4 separate regions of the Homo sapiens genome follow, and regions 2, 3 and 4 are each linked to region 1. Evidence: promoter capture Hi-C in 16 types of primary human blood cells and fetal thymus (Javierre and others, 2016). All regions are on one chromosome and are shown on one strand. Each heading gives the region's core, a stretch centred on a gene start or on the middle of the fragment in contact. The rest is flanking DNA. Distances are from core to core; before and after follow the strand shown.

The links. Contacts are between HindIII fragments. The CHiCAGO score rates a contact against its expected background, and 5 or more counts as called.
Region 2: a fragment that was not itself captured here is called in contact with the fragment with the promoter of VAMP1 in region 1 in 17 of 17 cell types (naive CD8 T cells, total CD4 T cells, non-activated CD4 T cells and 14 more); the score reaches 61.1 in naive CD8 T cells.
Region 3: a fragment that was not itself captured here is called in contact with the fragment with the promoter of VAMP1 in region 1 in 2 of 17 cell types (M2 macrophages and endothelial precursors); the score reaches 5.8 in M2 macrophages.
Region 4: a fragment that was not itself captured here is called in contact with the fragment with the promoter of VAMP1 in region 1 in 3 of 17 cell types (naive B cells, monocytes and naive CD8 T cells); the score reaches 6.2 in naive B cells.

What each region holds. Positions count from the first base shown.
Region 1 is chr12:6,466,950-6,472,804 of GRCh38, reverse strand. VAMP1 (vesicle associated membrane protein 1) reads left to right here and starts at 2,128. Exons shown (of 5, transcript NM_014231.5): 1 at 2,128-2,275. The coding sequence starts at 2,274. It also overlaps a transcript of TAPBPL not described here. RefSeq lists silencers at 1,577-1,836, 2,047-2,096, 2,597-2,646. The HindIII fragment of the contact is 5,218 bases long and covers 1,558-5,855 here.
Region 2 is chr12:6,332,947-6,338,773 of GRCh38, reverse strand. It overlaps TNFRSF1A (TNF receptor superfamily member 1A), which reads left to right. Exons shown (of 10, transcript NM_001065.4): 2 at 4,530-4,683; 3 at 4,909-5,037; 4 at 5,258-5,407; 5 at 5,627-5,705. Among named protein-coding and RNA genes, the nearest start is that of TNFRSF1A, 6.2 kb to the left of the region's middle. RefSeq lists enhancers at 1,454-1,503, 1,277-1,571, 1,564-1,653, 970-1,839, 3,582-4,452. The HindIII fragment of the contact is 756 bases long and covers 3,723-4,478 here.
Region 3 is chr12:6,289,092-6,294,624 of GRCh38, reverse strand. It overlaps LOC105369625 (a long non-coding RNA gene), which reads left to right. Exons shown (of 5, transcript XR_001748979.2): 2 at 1,416-1,526. Among named protein-coding and RNA genes, the nearest start is that of PLEKHG6, 19 kb to the left of the region's middle. RefSeq lists a silencer at 1,026-1,236. The HindIII fragment of the contact is 7,609 bases long and covers 1-5,533 here.
Region 4 is chr12:6,665,434-6,670,520 of GRCh38, reverse strand. It overlaps ZNF384 (zinc finger protein 384), which reads left to right. Exons shown (of 12, transcript NM_001385745.1): 11 at 1,332-1,490; 12 at 2,406-4,044. The coding sequence ends at 2,807. Among named protein-coding and RNA genes, the nearest start is that of ING4, 4.9 kb to the right of the region's middle. The HindIII fragment of the contact is 755 bases long and covers 2,307-3,061 here.

The DNA of each region.
Region 1 (5,855 bases), core at 879-3,378:
CCCTCCTTGGCCTCCCACATTGCTGGGATTACAGGTGTGAGTTACTGCGCCTGGCCCTTTTTCTTTTCTTTTGGAGATAGGGTCTCATTTTGTCACCCAGGTGGGAGTGCAGTGGCGTGATCTCGGCTCACTGCAACCGGAACATCTGGGCTCAAGCTGTCCTTCCGCCTCAGCCCCCCAAATAGCTGGGACTACGGGAGTGAGCCACCACGCCCGGCCCCATTCTTTTTGTCTTTGGGGGCTTATAATTTTTTGCAAATTTTCCCAAATTGTCATTTTTCCCCCTAACTTGCCATTTTGATGTGGTTTCAGGAGGAGAATGGGATAAACACATATGATGAATGCATTATGTTTCCAAGTGCAATTGTTTCCTTAAGAAGACTTGTGACATTTGGATAGATAACTTTGGTGGACTTTTTAGAGAATAGATGTAAAGGATGGCAAGACTGGAAGCAGAATGATGTATCATTGATCTTAGGAGGCACTTGGGTTTTTTGTGTGTGCTTGTTTGTTTGTTTTTTTGCATTTCAATATCTTCTAATTGGGATGTTTCACTTTAGCTATTAGTCAGACAGCAGTCAAACTATATTTGTCATACCTGCTCATGAGCATCAAAGCTTGCCAAATGGGTGTCTGAGGCTTGGAAGAAAACTCTAGAGCCTGGAGAGGAACACTCTTAGGAAATGCTGCATCACCAAAGCCCTTATGAAATGCACAGAGGACTACATTGCGTGGAAATTAGTGGACATCCAAGACTGAGTCAAAAAAGTGAATCATTAACAATCAGTCTCTGTGAAGTTTTAGGGATAGTTACCATGTTATTGTTTTCTATTTCCCTTTTTATGCATGCACAAGAGTGAAATATAGAAATCGGTATGTATATAAACCCATATTTTCAATACATGTAAAACAAAAATGCTAAGTGGTAAGGAAAGCATTTGTCACAGATAATTTGCAACCTTTTTTCTTTTTTTTTTTGAAACAGGGTCTTGCTCTGTTGCCCAGGCTGGAGTGCAGTGGCGTGATCTCGGCTCACTGCAACCGTCGGCTCCCGGCTTCAAGCGATTCTCTTATCTCAGCCTCACGAGTAGCTGGGATTACAGGCGCCCGCCACCATGCCTGGCTGTTTTGTATTTTTAGTAGAGACAGAGGTTTCGCCATGTTGGCCAGGCTGGTCTCGAACTCCTGATCTCAGGTAATCTGCCTGACTCGGCCTCCCAAAGTGCTGGGATTACAGGTGTGAGCCACTGCGCCCGGCCTTGTAACCTTTTTTCTTAGCGGGACATAAAATAATGGTGAATTTTCCAACTGATGGAGTCCAGGAAAGGGATAATAGTGAGCAGAGGGGAGATAATCACTGGAATGCCAAGAAGGAAAAATCAACTCGATTTGGCAGATTACTGGGGGAGAGGTAAAGGTGAAGGGGAGGAAATCTAGGATGGTTTCCACGTTTCTGGTCTGGGCAACTGAGTCGATGTGGTAACCTCGACTGGAGCAGGTTTGGGAGGGAGTTCAATTTAGGAAGGCTATGTTGAAAGAAACGAATGAACGAAAGCTTCGTGCTTGCTTTGGTGGGACGGAACCCCGCATCCGGTATCTGGCACCAGGAGCTTGTGGCTGTGTCTCGAGGCTCCTGCACCCTCTCAGAGCGTTAGTTAGAGGCGGGGCGGTGGTGCGGAGCGAGGGCCAGAGCAGGGCACCAGGGCTGGGCGCGCACCAGGAAGCCGCCGCCTCCAGCTGAATGCGCGAGTCCCGGCGCGGGGTGGGGCAGGGGCGGGCACGGTCTTCAGTAACTGCCTAGCGATTGGTTGGGAGGCACCACAAATGCCTAACAAACTGCTGAAGCGCCCTCCGAAGGGACAGACCTCATCTCCACCCCGCCCCGTCCCTCCGCCAGACTGGAGCGCAAACTATGGTCGCATTGATCACTGAAGGATCCTCACAGCAACCGCTCCTTTCCGGAGTCGGATGAGAGGAGAGTTGTGACTGGCAATTGGCAGGGGCGGGGCGGGCTAGGCCTGTAGCGCTGGGCGACCGTCCTGGGCATGGATTGGGCCGCGGGGTTGTCACCGTTATCCGGGAGGCGTGGTCAGCACTAATAAAGGCGGAGGCCGGCGCGGCAGCTGCAGTAAGTTCCAGCGCAGCTAGACCGCGGGGTAGTCGGCGCGAGGCGGAGCTTGGCAGTTCCGTCCACTTCAGCCGCAGCGTCCCTCACCGGGTGTCTCGCCGCAGCCTCCGGAGAGGAACAGACCCTCACTCTCTCTGTCAGAAAAATGTGAGTTGACTCTGGTGTGGGGGCTCGGCACCTCCTTGACAACTCTCGCCCCAAGCTCCCGATTCTGCGGGACGGAAAATGGCGCAATGCAGCAGCTGCAGCAACGCGGGGAACTACCACCGCGCGCCGCTTCCGGACCGGGCCACCCCCAGGGAGGGGGGCCAGCACCCCATTCTCGCACCAGCCACAGCTAGCACCCCACGGGCGGGGCAGGGGCGCAGGGGTCCCACAATCATTGCACCCTCTCCTCTCGTCTGAGTGGCGCCTCATTCTGGTTTTGGTATAGTGGAGACTCGGAGAGGGCGGGGGCTGGGGGTGGTGGATGGAGACAACTGGGCAGGGGACTCGAAAGGTATTTCTGTCATCTGGCTAAATCACTACTCAGCGCCTCAGGAAAGACAGTCATGGGTGCAACTGCCAGTTGGTAACTTATGTTGCCCTACAATCTCTGGATTTGTTTACCCCTCACCCAAAGTGTGATGTCTAGCCCCCCTCATGGCAGTGAGCAAAGCTGCAGAAACTTATCTGCCAGTTCTCTGGCACCAGGTGAGCAGCTCAGAAAGACTCAAGGGGTAGTGGGATAGTGGCCTGTCATCCCAAGCGGCTGTTCATACCAAGGCCATTCGTATAGGAGATGTTTTTCTATCACCGAGTCTTACCAAATAGTTGGAGGAGAAATAGGGAGAGCTGAGCTTTCCCCCTTTCCTCCAACACACACAGTTTAGTCTCCAGCAGTCTTCAACATCACCCCCTTCGCATGATCTTGAGGGAAAACTACGGCTAAACAAACGAAGTACTTCTCTGTCAAGACCTCAATATGTCTAATACAGATTTTTCTTTCTGATTACTACCCTGGCCTGGTCCTAGATGTATTTATGTTGCTTCTCTAAGTGACAAAAAAGGGAAAGATTTACTTGTGTTACATAAGGGTTGTAATTATCCCTAGATATTTTACTGTTGAGTGTTTCCAACTCCCAACAAGTAGTAAGTGAAATTGGCCTTGCAAATACTTCATAGCCATTTCACTTTTTCTTTTTGATTTCTATGGTTTTAACCAGATATGAGTGTTCTATGCATTTTGGGCAAGCCGTAGAATTCCAGTTGTTTTCATTTTGGGGAGGGGGCTTCCAGATAGTATCTACGTGGGATGAACAGAAGGCAACAGAAAAATCGTGGTGGCTAGCGGGGCATCACGAGGTCTCTGACCTTAATCTTGTCATTGGTGCTACCATCCTGGACTGCTTCCAACACTGGCTGCTACCTACTCATTGAATTTTCTGCCTTAAGTCGAGAGCTAGATTGCTTAGCTAGCTCAGTGGCAGGACAAGAGTCTTGTGGCTCCCATGACTTTGTGTCTATCTTTGCTTTACCTCCTTTGCACCTTAGAGGGAAATGGAAAAGTGATTCTTCAAATGGGGAATGAGTCAGGTGTAATCTGCTACCATAGCCTCTCTGAGGAGTTATTCTCTATCTTTTTAGACTAAAAGAAATTCACTTAATCAAGGAGAATGAGCTTCTGGGTATTAGTTCTATTGTAATTAGTCAAATAATTTCCTTTTAGGTGACTTTGTGGTTTCATTTTTGTTGCATTTACTCTTGGACTGCTCCTGTGAAGTATGTTTGGTGAGATTCTGCTTCTGTTTGAGGAGTTCTTACTGTAATTTCTATTCTCCATCAAATTTGAGAGATCTCCCCCCTGCCTGTGGGTGCTTCCTTGGCCGAGAACATCTCATGACTTAGGTTATACTTCTGGGAATTCTTTAGGAGGTGAGTTTAGCCTCCATGTTTTGGGACATGGAGAGGAGTTTGTCTTGAAGACCACACACTAACTTTGAGTGGTACAGAATGAGAGAACATTCTCTGTGTGTATAGTACAGTAAACCAAGATCTCTCTTTGGGATGTAAGTAACCAAGGGAGTCATCTGAGACTGTCAAATCCAGAAAAGGAAGGGACAGAATGTCTATAATGCATGCACATTGAGGACAATTTCTAGCATTTTTGCTTCCTGTCTATGCTCTTGGAACAGTTTCCATAACTAATGTAATTGCTTTGGGCCCCAGATTCTATCTAAGTGAAACCCCCATTTTCTCTGCCAAAAACAAAGCAAACAAACAGTCCTGACTCACTCCACCTACATAGACTTTGCCTTTGGTGATTTTCCAAGCTGCCCTTATGGCAGCCCTGATTTCCTCATCTTGTGTGAAGCATAACCAATAACTGGGCATATAAACCAATAACCATAACCAATAACTTGAATATAAAAAGGGGTGAGCTGACAGACATTACAGTGTACAGCCTCCCTCCTGGCTCCCTTCACGGACTGGCATTGAGTGTCTGTGGCTTTTCCAGGCGCACGGTGCAAGCTACCAGTGGATCTACCATTCTGGGGTCTGGAGAATGGTGACCTTTTTCTCATAGCTCCACTAGGCAGTGTTCCAGTGGGGACTCTGTGTGGGGGCTCCAACCCCACATGTCCCTTCTGTACTACACTAGCAGAGGTTCTCCATGAGGGCCCTGCCCTTGCAGCAAACTTTTGCCTGGACATCCAGGCGTTTCCATACATCTTCTGAAGTCTAGACGGAGGTTCCCGAACCTCAGTTCTTGCCTTCTGTGCATCTGCAGGCTCAACACCATGTGGAAGCTGCCAAGGCTTGGGGCTTCCACCCTCTGAAGCCACGGCCCGAGCCCTGCATTGGCCCCTCTCAGCCACAGTGGGAGCGGCTGGGACACAGGGCACTAAGTCCCTAGGCTGCACACAGCATGGGGACCCTGGGCCTGGCCCACAAAATAACTTTTTCCTCCTGGGCCTCCAGGCCTGTGATGGGAGGGGCTGCTATGAAGGCTTCTGACATGGCCTGGAGACATTTTCCCCATGGTCTTAGGGGCTAACACTAGGTTCCTTGCTACTTATGCAAATTTCTGCAGCTGCCTTGAATTTCTTCTCAAAAAAATGGTTTTTTTCTTTAGTACTGCGTCTTTTCTTCTGCCAGATACCCTAAATTATCTCTCTCAAGTTCAAAGTTCCACAAATTTCTAGGGCAGGGGCAAAATGCTGCCAGTCTTTTTGCCAAAACATAACAAGAGTCACCTTTGCTTCAGTTCCCAACAAGTTCCTCATCTCCATCTGAGACCACCTCAGCCTGGACCTTATTGTTCATATCACTAACAGCATTTTTGTCAAAGCCATTCAACAAGTCTCTAGGAGGTTCCAAACTTTCCCGCATTTTCCTGTCTTCTTCTGAGCCCTCCAAACTGTTCCATCCTCTCCCTGTTAACCCAGTTCCAAAGTCGCTTCCACATTTTTGGGTATCTTTTCAGCAACACCCCACTCTACTGGTACCAATTTACTGTATTAGTCTGTTTTCATGCTGCTGATAAAGACATACCCAAGACTGGGAAGAAAAAGAGGTTTAATTGGACTTACAGTTCCACATGGCTGGGAAGGCCTCAGAATCATGGCGGCAGGTGAAAGGCACTTCTTACATGGCAGCAGCAAGAGAAAATGTGGAAGAAGCAAAAGCAGAAACCACTGATAAACCCATCAGATCTCATGAGACTTCGTCACTATCACCAGAATAG
Region 2 (5,827 bases), core at 2,851-5,350, 140 kb after region 1:
CTTGTCATCCCAGCTATTCGGGAGACTGAGCTCGGGAGGACGGCTTGGGCCCAGGAGGTGGAGGTTGTAGTGAGCCCTGACCACACCACTACATTCCGTCCTGGTGGTGAAGGTTGCAGTGAGCTATGATTGTGCCACTGCACTTCACCCTGGGTGACAGAGTGAGACCCTGTTTCAAAAAAAAAAAAAAAAAAGTAGTGAGGCATCTGTGGAAGTCTTCAGATCATTTCCATGACCATGGAAATGCTGTTTGGAGCCAGGCCCTGGAGATGGAGAGGAAGGTTCACACACTTGTGCGTGCAAGTTAAAGCCTGAATGAAGATTTAAAAAGTGTGTAGGACGGATGGGAGCAGGAGAGAGGCTAGAAGACACTTGCAATAACCCAGGTGTGAGGCAACCCAGGAATGCGGAGAGGACCGAGAGATCACAGGGGGAGGCCTCGCAAGATGAACTGACACATGGGATGGCGGCAGGGATAGGGATGGGGCCCTGGGGAGAGAGCGTGGCAAGTTCTCAGCATTCGTCCGGGAAGTCGATGGTGTGTCATTTGTCTAGGTGAGGAGATGGATGAATTCCGTCTGGGGCATGTTAAGGGTCAGGGAAATGGTCATGTGGAAGGGTGCGCCTACCAAGCTGGAGGAGAGGTGCTGCAACTTCTTTCTGCCTTTGTATCATTCAGACACACTGTGTTCACTCATCAGTGGTTCTCAAAAGGAGAGGAGCACACCAGACTCTTAAGTAAGGGTGTGTGTGCTTGTGTGTGGGGAGGTGGGGGGATGGTCTGAAAACTCTCCCCCGGAGATAAATATATTCCTACCAGGGGTGCTGTCTCCTCACCTCCCTCTTTGGGAATCACTGGCTTCTACTAGAGTGGAAGACAGATGTATCATTAGATCGATCAGTTGATCCATATTTATCTGCTCCCAGTCTGGAGGTCTGGTTCTGGGAGCTGAGAGGACACCAGGGGAGGATAAGACACTTTCTGACCAAGACATTTTTTGATCTCTCATCTTATAAGGTTCGTGGTCACTTTGGGGAGATCATATCTGTCACCCAACATAACCATATTATGATAAGAGCCAAAAGTAGATAGGGTCAGTTCACGTGCTTCGAGTTCACAGGGACTATGGGTCTAAGGAGCCGGGGTGGAGGAAACAGACATCGTCAATGGTGGCTTCACGGGAGGGAGATGGGATCTCAACTGGGCCCTTGGAGGAGAAGCTGCCACGACCTCCCCCAACACCTTGACATTAAATGAACAGACACATGAATGAGGGGGAAAGGAAGACTAATTGGGTCCCTGCAAGGTGGCTGGATCGGGGTCAGACCACAAGGCCGATCTCAGCGTCGCCTCCCCACTCTGCAGCCCCAGCACAGGAAGTCACACTTTAAAGCCTCCTCTGGCGGAAATTGTGGGGGAGTTGGAGGGGTGTTGGGCCACCCCCTCAACTGTCTCTCCACAGGCACCCCAGCTTCCTGCCCTTCTGCTCCAGGCTGGAGTCTGGGCCTAAAGAGCTCACCTCCTGTTTCTCCTGTTTTGCTTCATTTACGCAACTGCTGAGGACTGGGCTTACTGGGGCCAGCTGGTGCCAGCAGTGGTGCCCAGTGGTGGGGAGTCTGAGGGCCCTGGCTCCTAGGGATCAGAGAGGGCTGACCTGGAGCATTCTGGGGGCCAGGGGAAGCCTAGGAAGCAGGGCTGGTTCTTCCATCCGGCATCCCTTCTTGCCTGCTCCCTCGTTCCTGGAAGTGGGTGTTCAGGGCTCTGGAGGCTTTCCTGTATTGCCAGTGGGCTTGGGGAGGGTCTGTGGAGACTCAGAACTGGCCTTGTTTCCTAAGGATTGTCTGGGGACCCCAGGGAGGCCCCCAAACCCAGCACAACTGGTCAGAACCAGCCAGGCTGTGGGAATGCGGTGAACCCAGGGTGGGAGGGCAGCCTTGGCTTGCTTCCTGCTGGGACTGGGGAGTGTTGGGGGATGGAGTGAGAGCTCACGGAATGGGTTTAGCTGTTGGAGACTTGTTGAACTGGGAGGAGGAGCTGGGGCGGGGCCTCAGCTAAAGGCCGCTGAGGGGCTAGGAGGAGCCAAGTGGCCCTCAGGGAAGGGAGGGCACAGACCTGATGGGCGGAAGCCAGGGTCGAGGGAGACTTCCCTTCGGGATGGAATGGGGAGAGGGAGGCATTTCCCGGAACATGTGGGCCAAGTGGGACAAGGGTCTGTGGCCTGGCTCTTTGCATGGGGAGGGGATGGATGGGGGTTGAGTGGGGATGGGAAGGAGGGACTTGGCCATAGGAAGAAGGGATTAGATGGAGTCCCACTTGCATGCAGGCTGGTGCCTTCTGCCTTTCTGCTGACTCATGACCCTTGAGGAGCTGGGGAAGCTGCTAGTTCCCTCTCCCCTCCCTAGGTCTCCCTCCCTCTGGCCTGAGTCACTGGGGCGGAGTTGCTGGGAAAAGATTTCCCTTTCCCGGATCTGACTTAACCCCCAGAGTGCTGGAAAGAGAAGGGAACACGTGGCCTGAGAAAGCCTCTCTCCCTCCCTCCCTCCAGGGAGGCTCATCCCCCACTGGCCAGAGGTCCCTGAAAAGCTCCCTTTAAGGCTGTCTGGGGCTGGCGTCCCCCAGTTCTTCATCATGACTCTGCCTCAAGCCCCCTGGATGGGATTCAAAGTACCAGTGACCTTAGGTGCTCCAGTGGCTTCTTCGGGGAAAGGAACCACACTTTCAGGACTGGGAAGTTCTTCCCATCACCACCCCAAACCCTTCCTGTTGCCCTGGAAGCCCCAGTCCTGTTCTCAGCAGAGGTGGCACGGTGTTGGCTGGTGCGGGCAGGGGAAGGTTGTTGTCCTCTGAGCAGGGGCACACGCCTCCACCTGCGGGGGCTGCTGTTGTGTTTCTGTGTGTGGCTTCCCCTGTTTGCGGCTGAGGCTTGAACTTCCGGGCCTGCACAGCTTACAGCTGCAGCGTCTCCCCGTGGCTGACTCAGGGTGACTGGCCTCCTGCTCCGAAATGTGGAGTTGGTGAGGCTGGGTGGCTGTGGGCTGCCTGACCCTCCTTCCCTGCCCTAGGGTTTCTGTGATCTGGTGAGTCAGTTGCTCCCCAGTGTTTAACAGACATTGAGGACACCCTCTTATCTTTACACAAAGTGTCTCTTATAGTAGAAAAAAAAAATGAAGCCCAGGGAAAACCAGAAATGAAGCTGGCAGAGATCAAAGTCCAAGTTAGAGCTAAATATTCACTCCTGGCTTTGCTTTCCTGGCACTGATGCCGGAACAGGACAAGCCATTTAGCTGCTGTGGGGTTGGCCTGAGACTGCAAAGCACACCTTCCAGAATGCCATGGTGTGCAGGGGGCTCCAGGACTCCCCAGCACGCCCTCAGCTCTGACCTGACAGTCATCCAAGCTGGGTCGCTAGCCTTGGCCAGCTCTATTTGCCTATGTCCTGCACACCTTTGCCCACTCCTGCCCCCGTCTCAACTTTGTCCCCCGTCTACCCATGCAGGATCCCCAACCTTTCCCTTTTACTCTCCTCCCCATTTGTCCTTGCCAACCCCGGGTGTTTGTAAATTTTGAGGTGGAGGGGATGGGCCAGGGAATGTGAGGGCGGAGGCAGATTGAGGTTTGATACAAACATGTAAATAAACTTCCTTCTTCTGTCCACTCCCCAGGAGTGGTGCTCACGGGAACATCACTCGCCCCCACCGCCAGCTGACTTTTTCAGAAAGCTTTTCATGGTGTAACATATTCCTGGGATGTGCATAGATCCTCATTGTTTACCTCTGTGAATGTTCGCAAAGCGATCACACGGTGAACCCAGCACCCAGATGGAGAAACACCGCCCCAATCTTTAGGGCTGCTTGTTGGAAGAAGGGGCCATCACTGAAGTAACCTGCCAATTCCCAATCAAAAACACATCCTTTCAACATCTGCCCTGTGTCCAGCACTGTTAGCTGCTGTGGGGGATTTCACAGTAAGGATAAAATACAGGGCTGGGCTCACGCCTGTAATCCTAGCACTTTGGGAAGCCAAGGTGGGAGGATCACTTGAGCCCAGGATTTTGAGACCAGTCTGAGCAACGTAACAAGACCCTGCCTCTACTAAAAATAAAAAAAAATTAGCTGGGCATGGTGGTTCACGGCCGTAGTCCCAGCTATTCAGGAGGCTAAGGTGGGAGGACTGCTTGAGCGTGGGTGGTGGAGGGTGCAGTGATTGCATCACTGCACTCCAGCCTGGACAACAGAGCAAGATCCTGCCTAAAAAAAAAAAAATACAGCTTAGATCTGGGGCCTACTAGCTTTGAGTTGAGGGAACAAAAATGAACACACAGGACAACTAGAGAACAATTAAGCATCAGATTGTATGGCCCCAACTGTCTAAGTTTCAAGGAAGAACTCTAAACTTAGTGAGTGGCGTGGCCTGGGCGGAATGTTTCACTGAGGAAGGACTTGAGCCAGGGAAGTTTTAGATCTGCTACCCCTAAGCTTCCCATCCCTCCCTCTCTTGATGGTGTCTCCTCTATCTGATTCTTCCCCAGGTGCTCCTGGAGCTGTTGGTGGGAATATACCCCTCAGGGGTTATTGGACTGGTCCCTCACCTAGGGGACAGGGAGAAGAGAGATAGTGTGTGTCCCCAAGGAAAATATATCCACCCTCAAAATAATTCGATTTGCTGTACCAAGTGCCACAAAGGTAGGGGCAAGTGGAAACGGTGAATGCCCTCAGGTCTGGGGTGCTGCTTCTTTCTCTGCTTCTTCCAGTTGTTCTTCCCTAACTTTGCTGTCTCTCCTGGGCTGGGATTTTCTCCCTCCCTCCTCTCCTAGAGACTTCAGGGAATCGGCCCTGGCTGTTGTCCCTAGCATGGGGCTCCTTCCTTGTGTTCTCACCCGCAGCCTAACTCTGCGGCCCCATTCACAGGAACCTACTTGTACAATGACTGTCCAGGCCCGGGGCAGGATACGGACTGCAGGGAGTGTGAGAGCGGCTCCTTCACCGCTTCAGAAAACCACCTCAGACACTGCCTCAGCTGCTCCAAATGCCGAAAGGGTGAGTGTGCACAGGCAGGAGAGTCAGGCGGGTCTTGAGTGGTGTGTGGGTGCCTGTCTATGTGCAGGCTGGTGGGTGTGGGCAGGAAGGTGTGTGTTTTGGTGGGACACTGCATGGATGTGAGTGTGTATTACAGAGACACACACTTAGGGGTATGTCAGGAAGGGGATGCAGGGACAGGAGGATGCAGGACTCATACCCCATCTTCTCCCCTCACCAGAAATGGGTCAGGTGGAGATCTCTTCTTGCACAGTGGACCGGGACACCGTGTGTGGCTGCAGGAAGAACCAGTACCGGCATTATTGGAGTGAAAACCTTTTCCAGTGCTTCAATTGCAGCCTCTGCCTCAATGGGACCGTGCACCTCTCCTGTGAGCGCAGCTCTCCTGAGGCCAAGCCCTCTCCCCACCCCAGGGGTTGGCCCCTTCCCCATGCGGTGGCACTTCCTTTCCTTCCCCCTCCTGTATTCTGTGGGTCTGACAACCAACTCCTCTCTGGCCGCCCCCACCCTGTCCCTCGTCACTTCCTCTGTCCTGTGGGGTGGGGGTGCAGGCGCTTCTCCTTTAGCTGTGCCGCACTTCTCCCTACAGGCCAGGAGAAACAGAACACCGTGTGCACCTGCCATGCAGGTTTCTTTCTAAGAGAAAACGAGTGTGTCTCCTGTAGTAAGTGAGTATCTCTGAGAGCTGCTGGGCACTGGATGGTGGCATGGGTTGGGACGGGTGACTGGTGGGAACCATTAGCTGGGCAACAGATGCCAGGATGCCCCAGAGTGCTCAGGGTCCTACTGG
Region 3 (5,533 bases), core at 1,624-4,123, 180 kb after region 1:
TGAGTAAACACTGGCTTATAAAGGTTGCTTAACACAGCCAAGGTCAAAAACAGGACTAGAATTTAGAGCTCCTGGCTCATAGTTCAGTGCTTTCTTTAAACTTTTTTTTTTTTTTTTTTTTTTTTAACAGAGATGGGTCTCTCTGTGTTGCCCAGGCTTGTCTTTAACTCTTAGACTCAAGCAATTCTCCTGCCTTGGCTTTCCAAAGTGTTGGGATTACAGGCTTGAGCCACCACACCTGGCCCAGTGCTCACTCTTTCTTTTCTCTCTTTCTCTCTCTCTCTCTTTCTTTTTTGACAGAGTCTTGAGTCACCACACGTGGCCCAGTGCTCGGTCGCTCCTTCCTTCCTTCCTTCCCTCCCTCCTTCCCTCCCTCCTTCCCTCCTTCCTTCCCTCCTTCTTTCCTTTCTTCCTTCCTTCCCTCCTTCTTTCCTTCCTTTCTCTCTCTCTCTCTCTCTCTCTCTTTCTTTCTTTCTTTTTTTCAGAGTCTTGCTCTGTCACCCAGACTGGAGTGCAATGGCAGGATCTCGGCTCACTGCAACCTCCACCTTCTGGGTTCAAGCAATTCTCCTGCCTCAGCCTCCCAAGTGGCTGGGATTACAGGCACCTGCCACCACGCCCAGCTAATTTTTTTGTATTTTTAGTAGAGATAGGGTTTCACCATGTTGGCCAGACTGGTCTCGAACTCCTAACCTCAGGTGATCCACCCGTCTCGGCCTCCCAAAGTGCTGGGATTACAGGTGTGAGCCACCACGCCTGGCCACCCAGTGCTCTTTCTATCAAATAAATGTCTCAAACTTGGGCTTTCGTGGGTCATTTTAATGGGTGTTTAATACACACAAAGTGCCAAAATTTTGGGTCAACTTAAAAAATTGTCAGCTAGGCGCCACCAGTGGGTCATGCCTGTAATCTGTGTGCTTTGGGAGGCCAAGGTAGGCAGACCACTTGAGGTCAGGAGTTCGTGACCAGCCTGGCCAATATGGCAAAACCCCATCTCTACTAAAAATACAAAAATTAGCCGGGCATTGTGGTGGGCGCCTGTAATCCCAGCCACTTGAGAGGCTGAGGTGGGAGAACCACTTGAACCCGGGAGGCGAAGGTTGCAGTGAGCCAAGATCATGCCACTGCACTCCAGCTTGGGTGATAGAGTGAGATCCTGTCTTGGAAAAAAAAAAAAAATTGTCACTGCTGGTGTGGTGGTGCACCACCTGTGGTCCCAGTTGCCTGCAGAGGCTGAGGTGGTCGGATTGCTTGAGCCTGGGAGGTCAAGGCTGCAGTAAGCTATGATGACACCACTGCACTCCAGCCTGGGCATCAGAACAAGACCCTGTCTCAGAAGAAATTTTGTCTCAAATTTTAAAATAATGTATTAAAACACGAAAAAAGTAACAACAGTGTCTCTGTTTTAAATCAAGGAGAAGGACATTGTCATCTTCATTAGATTGTTTATATTCAGCTTGGTGTCAGACTACTGTGGTGGACATTCTTGGGGAAGGTGATTTGCCACACCACCAGGAACTACATCTGTAAGTACACTACATTCAAAATTTGGAAGATTGTTTTAACCCTGGGTGATGGTGGAAAATAGATTTCTTATCCAACCTTTGGCTTCGTTGGAAAGTACTTCATGTTCTGATGTTGAATTTCAACTGTTTTTTTATTGTGGTAAAATATACATAACATGAAGTTTACCTTTTAATCTCAGTGGTTTTAAAATATACTCAATAATATGTTTTTGATTTCTTTCTAAAAAAAAATCCAATGTTGGGAAATAGTAAAGCGTTGATGTTGCAACTGTGCCAGAGTTCTAAGTTCAAGAAATCCTGGTATTTTATTTCTAACATTAAGGTTGTAAAATGCTGGTCCTGAGTCATAGGTTCTGGTGTGTCACTAAGATACACTACTTGAACAAACCCTTTGCAATTAGATGAATGCTCTTCGTTAGCATATCAATGTCACAAAGTGTCATCCTGCATTTAGAAAAACTTGTGTGATGGAAAGGAAAAAGTAAAACTATCTCTGTTTGCAAATGACGTGATATTATATATAGAAAACCCTAAGGAATCTACAAAAATAATTAGAATCTACAAAAAATAATTAGAGCTATAAAACAGTTCAGCAGAGTTGCAGGATACAAGATCACTTACATTACTAGTTCCGGGCTCTTCTATGTACAAAAATCAGTTGCATTTCTATGCACTAGCAATGAATAACCTGAAAATGAAATTAAGAAGACCGTCTGCTTAGAATAGTATCAAAATGAATAGAATACTTAGGAATAAGCGTTTTTTTTTTTTTTTTTTTTTTTTTTTCTGGAGACGGAGTCTCACTCTTTCGCCCAGGCTGGAGTGCAGTGGAACCATCTCGGCTCACTGCAAACTCTGCCTCCCGGGTTCACGCCATTCTCCTGCTTCAGCCTCCCAAGTAGCTGGGACTGCAGGTGCCCGCCACCACGCCTGGCTAATTTTTTGTATTTTTAGTAGAGATAGGGTTTCACTGTGTTACCCACAATGGTCTCAATCTCCTGACCTCGTGATCCACCCGCCTCAGCCTCCCAAAGTGCTGGGATTACAGGCGTGAGCCACTGCGCCCTGCCAGGAATAAATTTAACCAAAGAAATGCAATAATTGTACACTGAAAAATATTGTTGAAAGAAATTAAACAAGGTCTAAATAAAATCAAAGGACAGCCTATGTTTATTGTCTAAAAACTTAATATTGTTAAGATGTTGATACCAAATTTATCTACAGATTCAATGCAATCTCTATAGAAACTGTCCCCCCAAACCCCAGAAATGGACACGCTGATCCTAAAATTCATACAGAATTGCATGGGACCTAAAATAAACAAAACAAACTTGAAAAAGAACACAGTTAAAGGATTCATACTTCCTAATTTTCAAAACTTACTACAAAGCTACTGTAATCAAGACGATGTGATATTGGCATAAGGATAGATAAACAGACGGATGGAACAGAATCCAGTCCACACACCGACAGAACAGAATCCAGTCCACACACGGACGGGAATAGAATCCAGTCCACACACGGACGGGAATAGAATCCAGTCCACACACCGACGGAACAGGATCCAGTCCACGCGCCGACGGAAGAGGATCTAGTCCACACGCCAACGGGAATAGAATCCCGTCCACACACCGACGGAACAGAATCCAGTCCATGCACCGACGGAACAGGATTCAGTCCACGCACCGACGGGAATAGAATCCAGTCCACACACCGACAGAACAGAATCCAGTCCACACACGGACGGGAATAGAATCCAGTCCACACACCGACGGAACAGGATCCAGTCCACACACCGACGGAACAGGATCCAGTCCACGCGCCGACGGAAGAGGATCTAGTCCACACGCCAACGGGAATAGAATCCCGTCCACACACCGACGGAACAGAATCCAGTCCATGCACCGACGGAACAGGATCCAGTCCACGCACCGACGGGAATAGAATCCAGTCCACACACCGACAGAACAGAATCCAGTCCACACACGGACGGGAATAGAATCCAGTCCACACACCGACGGAACAGGATCCAGTCCACACACCGACGGAACAGGATCCAGTCCACACGCCGACGGAAGAGGATCCAGTCCACACACCGACGGAACAGGATCCAGTCCACGCGCCGACGGAAGAGGATCCAGTCCACACGCCGACAGAACAGAATCCAGTCCACACACGGACGGGAATAGAATCCAGTCCACACACGGACGGGAATAGAATCCAGTCCACACACCGACGGAACAGGATCCAGTCCACGCGCCGACGGAAGAGGATCTAGTCCACACACCAACGGGAATAGAATCCCGTCCACACACCGACGGAACAGAATCCAGTCCATGCACCGACGGAACAGGATCCAGCCCACGCACCGACGGAAGAGGATCCAGTCCACACACCGACGGGAATAGAATCCAGTCCACACACCGACGGGACAGGATCCAGTCCACACACCGACGGGAATAGAATCCAGTCCACACACCGACGGAACAGGATCCAGTCCACACACCGACGGAACAGGATCCAGTCCACACGCCGACGGAAGAGGATCCAGTCCACACACCGACGGAACAGGATCCAGTCCACGCGCCGACGGAAGAGGATCCAGTCCACACGCCGACAGAACAGAATCCAGTCCACACACGGACGGGAATAGAATCCAGTCCACACACGGACGGGAATAGAATCCAGTCCACACACCGACGGAACAGGATCCAGTCCACGCGCCGACGGAAGAGGATCTAGTCCACACACCAACGGGAATAGAATCCCGTCCACACACCGACGGAACAGAATCCAGTCCATGCACCGACGGAACAGGATCCAGCCCACGCACCGACGGAAGAGGATCCAGTCCACACACCGACGGGAATAGAATCCAGTCCACACACCGACGGGACAGGATCCAGTCCACACACCGACGGGAATAGAATCCAGTCCACACACCGACGGAACAGGATCCAGTCCACGCGCCGACGGAAGAGGATCCAGTCCACGCGCCGACGGAACAGGATCCAGTCCACACACGGATGGAATAGAATCCAGTCCATGCACCAACGGAACAGAATCCAGTCCACTCATCTATGGTCGATTGACTTCTACCAACATTACCAAAACCATTCAGTGGGGGAAAGAATAGCCTTTTCAACAAATGATGCTGAAACAAATCGATGTCCACATGCAAAAGAATGAATTTGAACTCATATCATACCATACGTAAAACTTAACTCAAAATATATCAAAGATCTAAATGTGAGAGCTAAAACTATAAAAATCTGAGAAGGAAATATAGGTGGAGACTGGGCAACATAGTGAGACCCTGTCTCTACAAAATATAAAACAAAATTTGCCAGGCATGATGGTGTGCTTCTTGGGAGGCTGAGGTGGGAGGAGCACTTGAGCCTGGGAGGTTGAGGCTGCAGTGAGCCGACGTCGCACCACTGTACTCCAGCCTGGGCAGCGGAAGGAGACCCTGTCTCAAAAAAACAAAAAACAAAAAACGGAGAAACAGGTGAAAATCTCTATGATTTTGAATTAGGAAATGGTTTCTTAGAAATAAGCACAAGAATCAAAGAAAAAATAAGATAAATCAAACTTTACTAAAATTAAAAACATTGTAGGTTAAAGGATACCAACAAGATAGTGAAAAGACAATCCACAGAATGGAAGACTATATTTGCAAAATATCTACCTGATAAGGGCCTAACATCCAGAATACGCAAACAACTCTTTTTTTTTTTTTTTTTTTGAGATGGAATCTCGCTCTGTCTCTCAGGCTGGAGTGCAATGGCGCAATTTCGGCTCACTGCAACCTCCACCTCCTGGGTTCCAGTGATTCTCCTGCCTCAGCCTCTCGAGCAGCTGAGACTGCAGGTGCCCGCCACCACGCCCGGCTATTTTTTGTTGTTGTCGTTGTTGTTGTTATTTTAGTAGAGACAGGGTTTCACCATATTGGTCAGGCTGGTCTTGAACTCCTGAACTCAGGTGATCCACCCGCCTTGGCCTCCCAA
Region 4 (5,087 bases), core at 1,435-3,934, 200 kb before region 1:
AACATAAATAACATATTCCAAGACCCTCCAAAAACAACTGAGTGAGAAGAATGGCATTATTATACATTTTTGCAGGTGTCTATTTTTTATTTTTGGGACAGGACCTTGCTCTGTCACCCAGGCTGAGTGCAGTGGTGTTATCATGGCCCACTGCAGCCTCAGCCTCCCGGTCTCAAGTGATCCTTCCACCTCAGCCTCCCAAGTAGCTGGGATTCTAGGCATGCACCATCACACCTGGCTGTTTTTTTCATTTTCGTAGAGATGGGGTCTTGCTATCTTCCCTAGGCTGGTCTCGAACTCCTGGACACAGGCCATCCTCCCGCCTCAGCCTCCCCAAAGTGCTAGGATTGCAAGCATGAGTCACCGCACCTGGCACAGGGGTCTTTAATGTCTTAAGCTAGAAGATGAGTAGATTCTCAGATCTGCTGCATCTGGCCTATTGTGTTATCACACATCATGTAACCTCTGTAAGGGTTACATGTAAAACATAAGGCACAATGAAGCCACTTGAAATTTTGAGGGGAACAAGATTTCAGTTAGGTTTTTCATCTTTGTGTTTGTGTGTGTGTGTGTGTGTGCGCGCGCGCGTGTGCGTGTTTGAGACAGAGGCTCGCTGGGTCACCTAGGCTGGAGTGCAGTGGTGTGATTTCAGCTTACTGCAACTTCCCAGGTTCAAGAGAGACAAAGGCAAACATTGTCTTATTATTTTGAAAAGATTTGGCTGGGCGCGGTGGCTCACACCTGTAATCTCAGCACTTTGGGCGGCGGAGGCGGGCGGATCACCTGAGCTCAGGAGTTGGAAACCAGCCTGGCCAACACGGTGAAACCTTGTCTCTACTAAAAATACAAAAAAAATTAGCCAGGCCTGGTGGCATGTGCCTGTAGTCCCAGCTACTTGCAGGCTGAGGCAGGAGAATCGCTTGAACCCGGGAAGCGGAGGTTGCAATGAGCCGAGATTGTGCCGCTGCACTCCAACCTGAGCGACAGAGTGAGAGACTTCATCTGGGAAAAAAAAAAAAAAAGAGTTTTGACCCTGTGGGCCCCCTGTGAAGGTCTTAGTGTTCCCTAAAGATCCCCATGCCTCATTTTAAGAACCACTGGACTGGTGAGACGGGCATAAGCTGTCTTGGGATCCTGGTATGTGCTACATGAGGTATGCTTCCACCCTTAGCCTGTAGCTTCTCAAGTTTCATTTGAAACAATTTCTACTTTCTTCAGATAGAGGGAGAAGCTGGGAGGCCTGACACCTACCTTTTTGCTTTCCATCGAGGTCAAGGGGGCAGGAGGAAAGAGTACAATGTATTCATTCTGGTTTCTCCCAATTTTCTCAGTCCCACAGACGGCAACACAACAAAGATAAACCCTTCAAGTGCCACAACTGTCATCGGGCGTACACGGATGCAGCCTCACTAGAGGTGCACCTGTCTACGCACACAGTGAAGCATGCCAAGGTGTACACCTGCACTATCTGCAGTCGGGCATACACATCAGTGAGTGCTCCGTTTCTTCTCTCCTTCCTCATAGTCCTCTAAGAGTACAGTCCACTTCACCCCATTTTCTGGGTAGAGATCTGTTGCAGTGAATACCCTGCCTCCCTAGCTCCAACTTAGCAGAACAGGTAAATATTCAGAAATTAATTAGACCCATTCTGAGGAATTTAGGGGATGCCTGATCTCCTAATCCTATAGAGACGCATAAGCTGTAATTCTTCATTTTACTTAAACATAAGGCAAAATAAAGCCACTTGAAATTTTGAGGGGAGCTGGATTTCAGTTAGGCATTTTCTTCTTCTTTTTTTTTTTTTTTTCTTTTTGAGACACAGTCTCGCCCTGTCACCCAGGCTGGAGTGCAGTGGTGTGATCTCGGCTCGGCTCACTGTAACCTCCACCTCCTGGGTTCAAGCGATTCTCCTGCCTCAGCCTCCCAAGTAGGTGGGATTACAGGTGCATGTTGCCATGCCCAGCAACTTTTTGTATTTTTAGTAGACATGGGGTTTCACCATGTTGCCCAGGCTGGTCTCAAACTCCTGACCTCAAGTGATCCACCTACCTCAGCCTCCCAAAGTACTGGGATTACAGGTGTGAGCCACCGCACCTGGCCCAGTTAGATATTTTCCATGAGACTCCAGAAAAGGTTGTAAAGTTGTTTCATTCAGGGGTCTTTGAAAAAAATAGCAGCTCATTCCTTTGCCAGTTGAATGTTGAGTGACTTCTAAAGGTTCCTCTCTTTTTTTTCTCAGTAGTGAGCCACTGAAAGTGCTACTTGAGTTTTGCTCAGTCTTGGCTCCAGAAAACCAGTATAAAGCTTACTCTGCTTACAGCAGAATCAGAGCCTGGGGTGCTAGTTACAAGTAATCTCTTTTCCTTCCTCTTTATCCCTCAACTTCTTTTTACCATCTCCCTCAGGAAACATACCTTATGAAACATATGCGCAAACACAACCCGCCTGATCTTCAGCAACAGGTGCAGGCAGCAGCAGCAGCGGCAGCAGTGGCCCAGGCCCAGGCTCAAGCTCAAGCCCAGGCTCAGGCTCAGGCTCAAGCCCAGGCCCAGGCCCAGGCCTCCCAGGCATCACAGCAGCAGCAGCAGCAGCAGCAGCAGCAGCAGCAGCAGCAGCAACAGCCACCACCACACTTCCAGTCTCCTGGGGCAGCCCCCCAGGGTGGGGGTGGTGGGGACAGCAATCCCAACCCTCCACCCCAGTGTTCCTTTGACCTGACCCCGTATAAGACGGCGGAGCATCATAAGGACATCTGCCTCACTGTCACCACCAGCACCATCCAGGTGGAGCACCTGGCCAGCTCTTAGAGATCCGTGCTGCCACCCACTGGGAAGAGGAAGAAGTAGTCCTGGTGTCTTCTTTCTCCAACTCTTGGTGGGAAAAGTCCTTTTCTTCCTTGACAGGCCTTGGCTCCATCTCCTTGGGCCTCTGTCACGGCTTTCCTTCACAGGATACCATCCTTTTTCTGAACTCTTCTTCAAAAGGAACATCAGCCCTCCTGATTGCAAAGGAATACTGAGCTGATGGTGTCATCCAGCAGCCTCCCCTCCCAAGCAAAGCTTCTAAAACTGGGGGTCGGTGCTCAAGGGAAGGATTTGCTATGACCTCATAGAACCTTGTCCAGTGTGGCCACTTACCCTATCCTTACCCTCCTTATCCTCAAAGTTTGGGCTGATGTAAGACTAGAGGCTGGCCCTCCCAGATAACAGAGAAAAGGGAGCCCCAAATGCAACCAGCCTCTTGTTCTATTCTTGCCTGCAAAAGAACAGAGGTTTCTCAAATGCCTCAGTCCCTGAGAGCCATTTCTTCCCCTACATCGTCTCACTTTGCTTCCTATTGACTGCTGGTAGAAGGAGATTTGGGGTAGGGGCTAGACCTCCTTTTATTTGAAGGGGGCAAGGGCTGAGATGTGGTCCCCAAGGGGCCAGAAATTCCCAAGTTGGTCACAGGTGGCTTAGAAGTGTGTGTTATGGTTTTACGGATTTCCTTGAAGCCTCTCTCCTTCTCTGCCTACAAAGACCCTATACTCTCAGTCTCCCCAACCCACCCCCAAGGAGCTGTGGGAGGCTTTGTGTTATCTGTGAAACTCCAAAACAGGGGTGTTGCGGAGAAGGGAGAGTTCAAGGCAAACGCAAGGACTGGACTTAGCTCCCTAGGTGCCACAGTCAGATGCCGGACACGGATTTATATATAAATATATATATATAAATATATTATACTCACTCATCACGGCCATCTTTGTTGTAACCATTTCTGTGTTTATAAATGCATTATCTCTGAGAATTTTCATATTTGATGTTTTGTTTATTTTTGTCCTTTTTTTCCCTCTCTCCACCCCTGTCCTCTAGCCACAGCATTTTTCTTTTTGTCTTTTTTTTTTTTTTTTAAATCATGGCAGATTTCAGAGGAAAGGAAATTAAAAAAAAAATCAGGAAACCAGTTGTTATAAAGTAATTTAAAAATGAAGAAAAAAAGAAAAAAACTTATGTACAAACCAAGGGGTGTTTTTAGAACATTGTATAGAAATAAATTCATGTAAAAGGATCAGAGGCAGTGGAGCTACTGATGTGAGCGAGCATGCGGAAAAGGTATTTGGGGAGATGTCCAAGAACAGTACTGAGGATTTATACCAGAGTGTGTGTGTGATGAACAAGTGCTTGTGTGATGATGCCCCATTTGTGCAATTCTCCAGTCATGGAAGGGTACAGTTTCATGATGTCTCCAGTGAAATCCTGGTTTATGAGGACTTCTACATACACATTCTGTCATGGGGATTGCATTGCCTAAATATGTGAGAGCAAGGCTTTGGTTATGTGTTAACAAAACAGCTAAGCTCCCTATGGAAGAAAAATGGAAGCCTCTTGAAAGGACCTACACTCCTGCCTGAGTCTGTGGAAGAGGGGCTTGCAGTTGGCAATGTGTATACATATGTGTATTTGTTACCTTGTGGAAATCATAACCGGTTAAGGGGTGCAAGATTGATTTATGCAGGAGAGCTGTAGTACTATGGAGTAGAATGTGGTCATGAAACCTGGACTTCAGCCCTTTGCCTACCATCAACCAGTGTTGGCCAGGGTGCTTCTTCAACTGTTAGTGAAGGGATTGGACTAGATAACTCTGAAGATACCTTTTTTGAGAATTAAGTAACTTGCTTTAAGGCTGGGTGCGGTGGCTCACGCCTGTAATCCCAGCATTTTGGGAGGGCGAGGCAGGCAGACTACTTGACGTCAGGAGTTCAAGACCAGCCTGGCCAACATGGTGAAACCCCATCTCTACTAAAAATACAAAAATTGATGGCCGTGCACGGTGGCTCACGCCTGTAATCCCAGCACTTTGGGAGGCCGAGACAGGTGAATCATGAGGTTAGGAGCTCGAGACCAGCCTGGCCAGTATGGTGAAACCCCGTCTCTACTGAAAATACAAAAAATAAGCTAGGCATAGTGGTGGGCGCCTGCAATCCCAGCTACTCAGGAGGCTGAGGCAGGAGAATCTTTTGAACCTAGGAGGCAGAGGTTGCAGTGAGCCAAGATCGTGCCATGGCACTCCAGCCTGGGCGACAGAGTGAGACTCTCTCTCAAAAAAGTAAA